Linked DNA regions of Homo sapiens: region 1 is linked to region 2. The links are contacts of gene promoters, found by promoter capture Hi-C in human tissues and cell types (Jung and others, 2019). All regions are on one chromosome and are shown on one strand. The core of a region is centred on a gene start or on the middle of the fragment in contact, and the rest is flanking DNA. Distances in the headings are between cores, read along the strand shown.

What was found. Contacts are between HindIII fragments. The study calls those that stand out against the background at their distance.
Region 1: a contact is called between a fragment that was not itself captured here and the fragment with the promoter of FBXO6 in region 2, in 1 of the 25 tissues and cell types used here (aorta).

Annotation. Positions count from the first base shown.
Region 1 is chr1:10,517,053-10,522,216 of GRCh38, reverse strand. The region is part of intron 2 of PEX14 (peroxisomal biogenesis factor 14); the gene reads right to left. Among named protein-coding and RNA genes, the nearest start is that of PEX14, 45 kb to the right of the region's middle. The HindIII fragment of the contact is 4,142 bases long and covers 215-4,356 here.
Region 2 is chr1:11,661,419-11,666,238 of GRCh38, reverse strand. It overlaps FBXO6 (F-box protein 6), which reads right to left and starts at 2,039. Exons shown (of 6, transcript NM_018438.6): 1 at 1,984-2,039. It overlaps FBXO44 (F-box protein 44), which reads right to left. Exons shown (of 6, transcript NM_033182.7): 6 at 2,912-4,820. RefSeq lists an enhancer at 1,464-1,513 and silencers at 1,634-1,703, 1,754-1,973. The HindIII fragment of the contact is 9,200 bases long and covers 1-4,050 here.

The DNA.
Region 1 (5,164 bases), core at 1,036-3,535, 1.1 Mb after region 2:
TTAGTAACTAAAGGTGAACACTGGCCTCACTGTGTAACAGTTTCATAAATTCTGCTCTTTCGTTTGGTAAGAGCAGCCTTGCCCTTTCTGGGAGAGCCAAGGCTACACCTGTAATGTCAGAATGCATTAGCAATAATAAAGGCCACGGTAATGCAAGAGCCGACTTCATGAACACGTCATTCCAGAATGGCTAAATTCAATCAAATATGGCAGCGCTTCCTACAACACTACGATCACTGGGGCCAGTGTGTGACGTGGGCCCACTTACTGGAAGCTGTTGGAAAGAGAAAGTGAGCACTCTGCTTTAAGACTAATAGACAGGGTTTTTACCAGCCCACAAGTGGTTCAGCATCCTTCTTTCCCAGGAATTACCTAGAAATTCATTTAACATCTAAAGACTACAAATGAAACTTCAGAAGGTTAAAAGTATATAATGAGAAGGGGCCAAGGGGATGGTATTCACTCAACCTCACCTTAAATATGTATGATTCTTAGGGGGGAAAAAAGTCAACACCCATAAGGTGGTAATCAAAAAGCAAAGCCAAAGATGAGCCAGGTTTAATTCTAACTCAGTCACCAACTTCTTCAGTAACTTTCAGAGCTACTTACCTTTCCCGTTCCTGCTTCCTCATCTGTAAACTGGAACTAATACTGCTTAGAGACTCACAAAGTGGTATAAGGAATAATTAGTTAGCATTTATGTAACACTTTTCATCTTCAAAGTAGGATTACAGACTATAAAGTAGAGTAGATGTGGCTTGAAAAATCTTTTTAAAACCTAAAATAAAGCATGAAAGCAAATTCAGAGAAGTAAACTCAGCTGACATCATCTTAGAGCAGCCAGATAGCTCTGCCTCCACGGGCACCCCCATCTTCCCTAGTCAGTATTTGCATGTGGAGACAAAGGTATAAGGATATTTTATTAGGGAAAATGGGAGGAGATAGAAAGAAGAGAAAAAGGAGAAAGAGAAGGTTAGAGAAAAGGAATGGGAGAAAGTATAAAAGGGAGAAAAGATAAGAGAGAAAAAGAAAAGAAAAGGAGAGAATAGAAAACAGCAAGAAATAAAGGAAGAAAAGACAAATCTTATCCACTAGAAGAAAAACAAAAACAGGAAGAGAGGAAGAAAAAGAGAAATGGAAAAGAAAACTTCTTTAAGGGGATAGTTTTCCTGTTTCCAAAGAAAAAAGAAGATTAAAAAGTAAAAGGAAAGTTCAAAATGTTTAAAAAAAAAAAAAAAGACAACGGCAAAGAGCAGAGGATAGAAAAAGAGAAGATAAAGCTTTCAAGAGTATGTCTGGAAACCAGAAAGCTGGAAGAGAAATCATTAGCAAGTCCATAGTGCGTCTACAGTGATACTGTGTGGATCAATTCATTTAACGCTGCCCTGTACATTTACAGAAAAGTACCTCTGATATAATAAAGGCTCATAAACATGCAGAAATTGGGTTAGACCCGTTTCGAATTCCTGCCAAACAATGGTTCAGAAAAATGAAGCTCTATTTTAATTAGCTGGATTCACGAGTGATTTGATAACAGCAGATGCTGTCTGGATGCTTTCAGCTTGATGGGCTCCACATACATGAACTTAGAGTGGTTTTGATGCAATTAGGTGTTTCTTTCTGCTCCAACATGCCAGGCCTAAGGACCTGAGCCTACGTGTAGCCCCTACATGTTGCTAAATTTATCTTTATGTTAATATTCAAATCATGAAGATGAGAAGGGTGGCCACCATAAGGGAAGTAGAAAAGTAGTTTTCAGGGCCGGCCATGGTGGTTCATGACTATAATCCAGCACTCTGGGAGGCCAAGGTGGGAGGATCACTTGAGGCCAAGAGTTTGAGACCAGCCTAGACAACACAGTGAAATCCTGTCTCTTCAAAAAATTTAAAAATTAGCTGGGCATGTTGGCATATGCCTGTGGTCCTAGCTACTTGGGAGGCTGGGGCAGGAGGATCGCTTGAGCTCAGAAGGTTGAGGCTGCAGTGACCTATGACCGCAGCACTGCACTCCAGCCTGGGGTGACAGAGTGAGACCTTGTCTCTAGTTAAAAAAACAAAAAAAAAAAAAAGAAGAAGAAGGCCAGGCACAACAGCTCATGCCTGTAATCCCAGCACTGTGGGAGACTGAAGTGAGAGGATCGCCTGAGCCCAGGAATTTGAGACCCAGCCTGGGCAACAAAGTGAGACCCTGTCACTACCAAAACATATTATTTATTTAATTTATTTTTATTTTACTCTCACCACTTCTGTTCAACAACAACAACAAAAATTTCAAATGAGCTGGGTGTGGTGGCACACATCTATGGTCCCAGCTACATGGAGGTCGAGGCGGGAGGATCACTTCGGCCGGAAGGTGAAGGCTGCAGTAAGCCGTGTTTGCACACTGCACTCCAGCCTGAGCAGCACAGCAAGTCCCTGTGTCCAAAAACAAAGAAAAGTAGTTTTTAAAAGTCACTAGTAAGTAGAAATGAATATTCTCACAATGAATTCTTCTTTCCACCAGGGAAAGAAAAGTTAGGTAGCTGAGAGAAAGCCACATAGGGCAGTGTCTCTGTAGAAATATTTAATGCCAAGGCTGAAACACAACAGGCTGCACACTTCCAATTTTGCAAGTCCAGCACAGTCTTACACCGAAGGAAGAGTGCACCTAATGCATAGCCTGACCTGGGAAGTGGCCTTCAAAATGTTTTTTGTAATAAGGCATCCTATTATAACCCAGCGCACCATTCCCTGAGACAGGCGGTGGTATTCCGGATCACAACCCTGAAAGTCCGAGTCTTTTCGCCAGGTGCTTTCAAGCCAGGCACCTTACTGCCCCCGCTCTCCCTCTTAAGCACTCTCTCTTCCAAAGAGCATTCTGTTTGCTTTTCCCAAAGCACTCCCTGCCCTCTGCTATGGCCACTTAGTGAGGCACCACCCACACACACAGAGCTGCTAAAGGACTGCATAAAGCCAGAGCAGCTTCCAGCACAGGGCACGCCTAATAGGAGGGTCTGATCTGTTAATTATCTGTCAGTTTGTCACGGCTGGGCTGAGGAGGGGAGAATGATGAAAAGGGGGGTGTTAGGGGGAGGCCCTCTACTCGGTGGTGTGCTACTCTTCCTGAAATTCTGAATTCCGCTTTTGAAATCATTCACCCCCTGTTGGACAACGTGTAGTATACAGGGTGAAGAAGAGAGGATGAGAGTTTGGCTCGACTCCTTTTGACAGAAGTGGGGGCCTCTCCAACTCCACCACTACCACGACAAGCACACGGCAAGAAACACACTCCCTCACTTTCTCTCCAAGAGGACAAAACGGACATAACGACCTTCACACCATCTCTCCCCTTCACCGGCACTAACAAGCTGAGCACTGTAAATCAAGGATGAAATCCTTGTGCCAGGAAGGGAAGGAGAAGCATCTCTTCTGTAAAGAGCCCAAAGATGCTTCGGAATCAGCATTTCGGGCAAGGGCTGGGAACGCAGGAAGCACCATGCAGGCAACTGAAGGAAAAATATATATTTATTACATATAGCAGGCCTCCTTCTTCAAAAGTTATTTATTTCACAAAACCACTCTGCTAAATAGAGATTTCAATCTAATTGGAATTGGAATTTGCATATTGTAAATGCACCAAGTGAGAGTCTTGGACACTTGTGTTCTATTCTACAGTGTAAGGGTTCACCCGTGGATTTCCCAATATATACACTACAAGAATGTAAGAAAAGAGCACAGAGAACTGGCCTTTATATTTTATTTTTTCAGCCCTTCACAGAGGGTCCAGTCTGTGAAACGGGATGACGCTCTCAATATCCCCAAGGAGACAAAACCACTGAGGCAGAGAGGAGGTTCCCCCTGGCATCGGGTTTGCCATCAGCCGTGTGTAGCTGTTCAGTCTTGCAGGTCTGTGGAGCACCCCTGCCCACCACCCGGGGGAGGCAGGGAGTAGACCTCTATTCATCTAACCCTTAACCCTCCCCATCCCATCTACATATCAAATTAGCCATGCTTAATTAACAGAGATGCAAATAGTCAGGGACCGAAATAAAGGTTTTTGACAAGAAGCAAAGAGGGATACTTTTTTTTTAAGGAGAGGAGAGCGAAAAAGCACCCAAAACAAAAGGTCAACCTACAAATAACTGAGGAAATGAGAGAGAAAAGGCACAGGTCAGGACTTCCCATAAAGGTCTGAAATTTTCTGTTTGTAACTCAGGGTTCACATGGAAAAGTAACGCATGACAGAGGAAGAGACACTTCTGGGGAAGTCAAGTTGGGACAAAGGTTCTAGAGTCCACCATTTGCCTGGGACTTACTTCCCTAGACTGCATTCAAATTGGGCTTCTGCTCCCTGCTCCCCTCACTCATTTCAAGAAAGAAATTATTTAATTTTTTTCAAATACTGAATCCCTAAGGCCCAAAGATGTGCCGTTTCCTCAAAAACTAAGCATCTTCTAGTTCACAGCAACTCCTTTCTGCCCCCCATATACTCTGACAATGCTAGCCTCTCGGTCACAGGGTGTAACCTTCATTTAAAAAAAAAAAAAATCACAGGTTCTGCTTCCCATTTAGAAAAAAAAAAAAGAACAAAATGGAAAGAAAGAATAAATATGAATTTGGAGGGGAATTCTGCCAAAACCTGAACCTCCAAAATCTGGTTCAGCCACATTCTTGCCCACAACCAGTACTTCTCGGTGCCTCCCTACATTTTTCAAAATGCAGCTGCACAACCTCTTAAAATTCAGATTTCTAGCACCTATAATTACAGGCCTCTCAAGCCAGGCTCCTTTAATTAATGAGCCTGACTCCTCTCTCTTCAAAGGAAGTCTGCATACGGGCTATATCAGAGGGTGAACCGACCCGATCAGTGCCTATCTGATCACTGCCTGATGCAGCCAGCACTCTGCCCCCAATAGGAGAGGGAGTTGCCCCTCACCCCCACCTCCACTGCCCAGTTCAACACATCTCAATCTGGCACAAGCCAATTGTGCAGTTAAGGCCATCAAACAGTTCTTGGAACTTAAGGGAAGAGAAAGCAGCTTTGCTGGGTGTGACCAGCAAAATCCAAAGAGAATTCGATTCTCCCTGGTTCACGTGCTCCTCTGACCTCACTTCTTCCTACTGCTGGGGTGAAATGCAGAGTGCAGGCTGAAGACAGTCACTGGTCAAGGCTGGACAAGCAACAG
Region 2 (4,820 bases), core at 790-3,289:
GTCAAGGCTGCAGTAGCTCACAGGTGTGAGCCACCGAACCCAGCCCCTCAGATTTTTCTACCTTACAGTCCATGAGGCCTGCCGAGGTCACACTCTAGGGAAAGAAGGAGCCTGCTGGAGCAGAGTGAGCCATGATTGCTCCATGGCACTCCAGCCTGGGCAACAGAGCAAAACTGTCTCAAAAAAAAAAAAAAAAAAAAAGAGAAAAGAAAAATGCTTTGATGGAAAAAAAAAATAACAAAAAAACCCAATGTGGCCAAGTCTTCTAAGTTCTGAGAAGCAACTGTAAGCATTTGAAAAAAAATGTAAAAGTTGTCAATTAAAAATGCTTGTAGTCTAGGCAACATAGTGAGACTCTGTCTCTAGAAAAAAAGAAATTAGGTCGGGTGCACAGACTCAGGCCTGTATTCCCAGCACTTCGGTAGGCCGAGGCGGGCGGATCACAAGATCAGGAGTTCGAGACCAGCCTGGCCAATATGGCGAAACCCCGTCTCTACTAAAAATACAAAAATTAGCTGGGCGTGGTGGCGGACGCCTGTAGTCCCAGCTACTCGGGAGGGTGAGGCAGGAGAATCACCTGAACCCGGGAAGCGGAGGTTGCAGTGAGCCGAGATCGTGCCACTGCACTCCAGCCTGGGCAACAGAGTGAGAATCTGTCTCAAAAAAAAAAAAAAAAAAAAAAAAGGCCGGGCGCGGTGGCTCACGCCTGTAATCCCAGCACTTTGGGAGGCCGAGGTGGGCGGATCACGAGGTTAGGAGATCGAGACCGTCCTGGCTAACACAGTGAAACTCCATCTCTACTAAAAATACAAAAAATTAGCCGGGCTTGGTTGCAGGTGCCTGTAGTCCCAGCTACTCGAGAAGCAGGTGCCTGTAGTCCCAGCTACTCGGGAGGCTGAGGCAGGAGGACGGCCTGAACCCGGGAGGCGGAGCTTGCAGTGAGCTGAGATCGCGCCACTGCACTCCAGCCTGGGCGACAGAGCGACACTCCGTCTCAAAAAAAAAAAAAAAAAAAAAAAAAAAGAAATTAGCTAGGCCTGGTGGCCCGTGCCTGTAGTCCCAGCTATGCAGGAGGCTGAGGCAGGAGGAACGCTTGAGCCCAGGAAGTCGAGGCTGCAGTGAGCCGTGATCATGCCACTGCACTCCAGCCTGGGTGACAGAGCAAGACTCTGCCATAAATAAATAAATAAATAAATGCTGGCAGCTTCTAAAGGCACTGTCTAGACTCTAGACGAAATAAAAGTCACTGGGCTCCAAGCTAGAGGCATCTAGGCACCAATAGCTTCCCACCGTGGTGACCGAAGTCTGGTCTCTGGCCCAGTCCGCATTTTCTTGCGCCCCTTCCCCCCCCCGGCCCTGGGCATTTTGTGGTGGGGAAGTCCATGCCAGCCCTAGGAAGCCCTCTCACACCGATCGGGGTCCCCAACTGCCCGGCCCGGCGTCTCGTGCTCGCCTTCTCCGCACCCACCCTCCCAGCAAGCTCTAGTGGCATTGTTACTTCACCGGTTTCTCGGAAACAGAAACTGTGGCTGGGGCAAGGCAAGCGCCGGATCTCGCAGGCGTGTGGGGGCCTGGAGGTCCCTTGACAGTTCTCCGAACCCGGCGCCGGCCTCGGGATGTGGCCGGGGTGGAGGCGGCCGCAGAGCCTCCGCCTGGGTGGCCCCGGGGCCAGGCCCCCAGTCGAAGTCCGGGCCCAGCCGCCCGCGCCCCCCACCCCTGGCCGCCCGGACCAGCGCCCGCAGGCTCCGTGAACGCCCAGGCGCCGGAGACCCCGGCTCCCCACTCGCCCGCCGCCCGTCCCCCCGGGGACGCGACCTGGGCGCAGCGGCGGAGCTCCAGGTCGGCCCGAGCCTACGGCCTCGGCTTCGTTGTCGCTGGGCCCCGCCGCCGCGTCACGCGCTGCGCTCGGTCCCCACCCCCGCCCCGGACCCCGCTGCCGTCCCTCTCGGCCCGGCCCCTAACCCTCGCCGCGGGAAGACGAACCTGGGATCCCCAGGGCCCGGGCCCTCGCTGCGGCCTGCGTGTCCTGAAGCTGTCTCCCCCTCCAGGCGGCGGGCGGCTCAGCACCCACACCTGCACCCGCCTCCTACGCAGGGCCGAAGCTCCCGAACGCGCGGCCGCTCCCCGGACCTCCGCACTAGTTCCTTCCTTATGCGGCCCAGGGCTCCACCCTTGACCCGCGGTCCCCTCCCTAGAGGCAGGACCTGACACCCAGTGGGCTCCTTCTTTCCCTAGGGCGTGACCTCCGCAGGCTTCATAGACTCAAAGGTAAAAAACCTGAGGTGCTAGGAGGTGGCTAACGCCTGTGATCCCAGCACTTTGGGAGGCCGAGGTGGGGAGGATCGCTTGAGGTCAGGAGTTCGAGACCAGCCTGGCCAACATGGCAAAAACCCTGTCTCTACTAAATATACAAAAATTAGCCGGGCGTGGTGGCACAGGTCTATAATCCCAGCTCCTCCGGAGGCTGAGGTGGGAGAATCGCTTGAACCTGGGAGGCTGCAGTGAGTGGAGACTGTACCACTGCACTGCAGCCTGGGCGACAGAGCCAGACCTTGTCTCAAAAAATAAAAAACCTCTGAGGTTTTTTATCAGGATTAAGTTCATGAATTTCTTCCATCAGTCAACAAATATTTAGCAAGCACCTTGTTCAGGCAACCACCAAGGGTTGTGCAGGCTGTGTACTGCACAAGGGGACTGGCCCAGGACACATTAATTGCAGTCAGGGCTACATGTTCTCCGTGGAAGGCCGTCCTTTTGCAGTTTGCCATGGGCTGGTGGGTGGTGATCCTGCCCTGGCCAAAGCCCTTATCTAGCTCACCCTTGACTGAGATAGCTAAATGTGAGGAGTACTTATTGAGCACTGGATTATAGTCCATGTTCACACTGCTATAAAGAAATACCCGAGACTGGGTGATTTATAAAAGGAAAGAGGTTTAATTGACTTATAGTTCCATATGGCTGGGGAAGCCTCAAGAAACAATCGCTGGGCGCGGTGGCTCACGCCTGTAATCTCAGCACTTTGGGAGGTCGAGGTGGGTGGATCACGAGGTCAGGAGATTGAGACCACCCTGGCCAACATGGTGAAACTCCATCTCTACTAAAAATACAAACAAAATTAGCCGGGCATGGTGGTGGGCGCCTGTAGTCTCAGCTACTCCAGAGGCTGAGGCAGGTGAATGGCGCGAACCTGGGAGGCAGAGCTTGCAGTGAGCTGAGATTGCGCCACTGCACTCCAGCCTGGGCGACAGAGCGAGACTCCATCTCAAAAAAAAAAAAAAAAAAAAGAAAAGAAAAGAAAAAAGGAACTTACAATCATGGTGGTGGAAGGTGAAGGGGAAGCAACGACCTTCTTCACATGGCGGCAGGAGGGAGCCGGGGAAACCGTCACTTGTAAAACCATCAGATCTCGTGAGAACTCACTCACTATCATGAGAACAGCATGGGGGAAAACCGCTCCCATAATCCAATCACTTCCCACCAGGTCTCTCCCTAAACACCCAGGATTACCATTCAAGATGAGATGTGGGTGGGGACACAAAGCTTAACCATATCACGCACCAACTGTGTGCCAGGCACCATTCTAAATGCTTCGGCTTCATCCAATGTCCGTAAAGCTGTTGGCAAAGAGTAACACCAGGAGGCAGAGCCTGGGTGGCACTGCTGATCTGGCACAAGGTGGACTCAAGAGCTGCCCAGAGATGTCCACACACCCCAACCCCAGCCTGTGGCTGGGCCTCCAGAGGAAGCCAGCAGTACTGGACGGCTGCCAGGTGAGATACCTGCAGCTCACTGAGGGGTCTGCCCATGAACCTGTTTCTGTGATGGCCTGGTTCCTGAAATGCCAACCCCTCTGTACCTTAGACAGAAGCCATGCCATTGTACCATCTGCAGGTCCAGGCAGGACCACCTAAAGTCTGCCTTTCCTTCCAGAAACCACAGGGCACAGGTTAGACTGGGCACACCTTTTATTTGGCTGCATGCAGTAGGGCGAAGTCAGGAGAACACTGCTATCTTTCCAGCAGGACAAGAGGCAAGTTCCAAGGGTGGTTGGCTGGGAGACAGAGGTCTTGGGAATGGCAGTTCTAGGGGTGGGGTGGGGGCTTGGAATGCTCTCCAAGCCAGAGGGGGCCGGGCCTGGATTTGGGAGGTGGACAGGGGATTCTTCAAACCCCCTACCATACTCATCCAGGGCTCATGTGTCCAGCTGTCAGAGCAGGTCCCAATCCTGCTCCCCATCTACCCTGGGACATCCTGTACAGGATTCCCTCAGTCCTCTGGGAACCTAACCCCACCTGGTACCCATCTAGCTTCTGGGGCTCCACTGACAGTGAGGACAGTCCACACCCGACCTGGACCCCACCCCACCCTGGGTCTGTCCATCTCAGTCCCGGCCTGAGCCTCTGGGCCAAAGCCACCTCTTCTGAGCAGGCAGGCAGAGCGAGAGACTGGGAGCAGCAGACAGGGGCAGAGCACGGCCCATGAGCCCACCCTCCACTTCCCAGATTGGTCAGAGTTACATGGTCACCTCCCTGCACCTGCACCATCAGGGCAGCTGCAAGCTTGCCAGTTGTCTTGCCTGTCCCTGCTCCGAGGGTCAAAGAACACAGGTAGAATGGTCCCAGGAGGGGAAGGGAGAGACAGATCCAGGCTGGCCTCCAAGCTCGACTTTCTGAGGGGCCCAGGGGAACATGCTGCACCTCCCACATCTCAGGTGCTCCGTCTCTGAAAGGGGCACACGCAGGCTTCCCCGGCCATCATTCAGGTCAAGACCTTTCGGGGAGAGCTGGCCCGACCCCAGCATGCGAGGGCTGCCCACACTG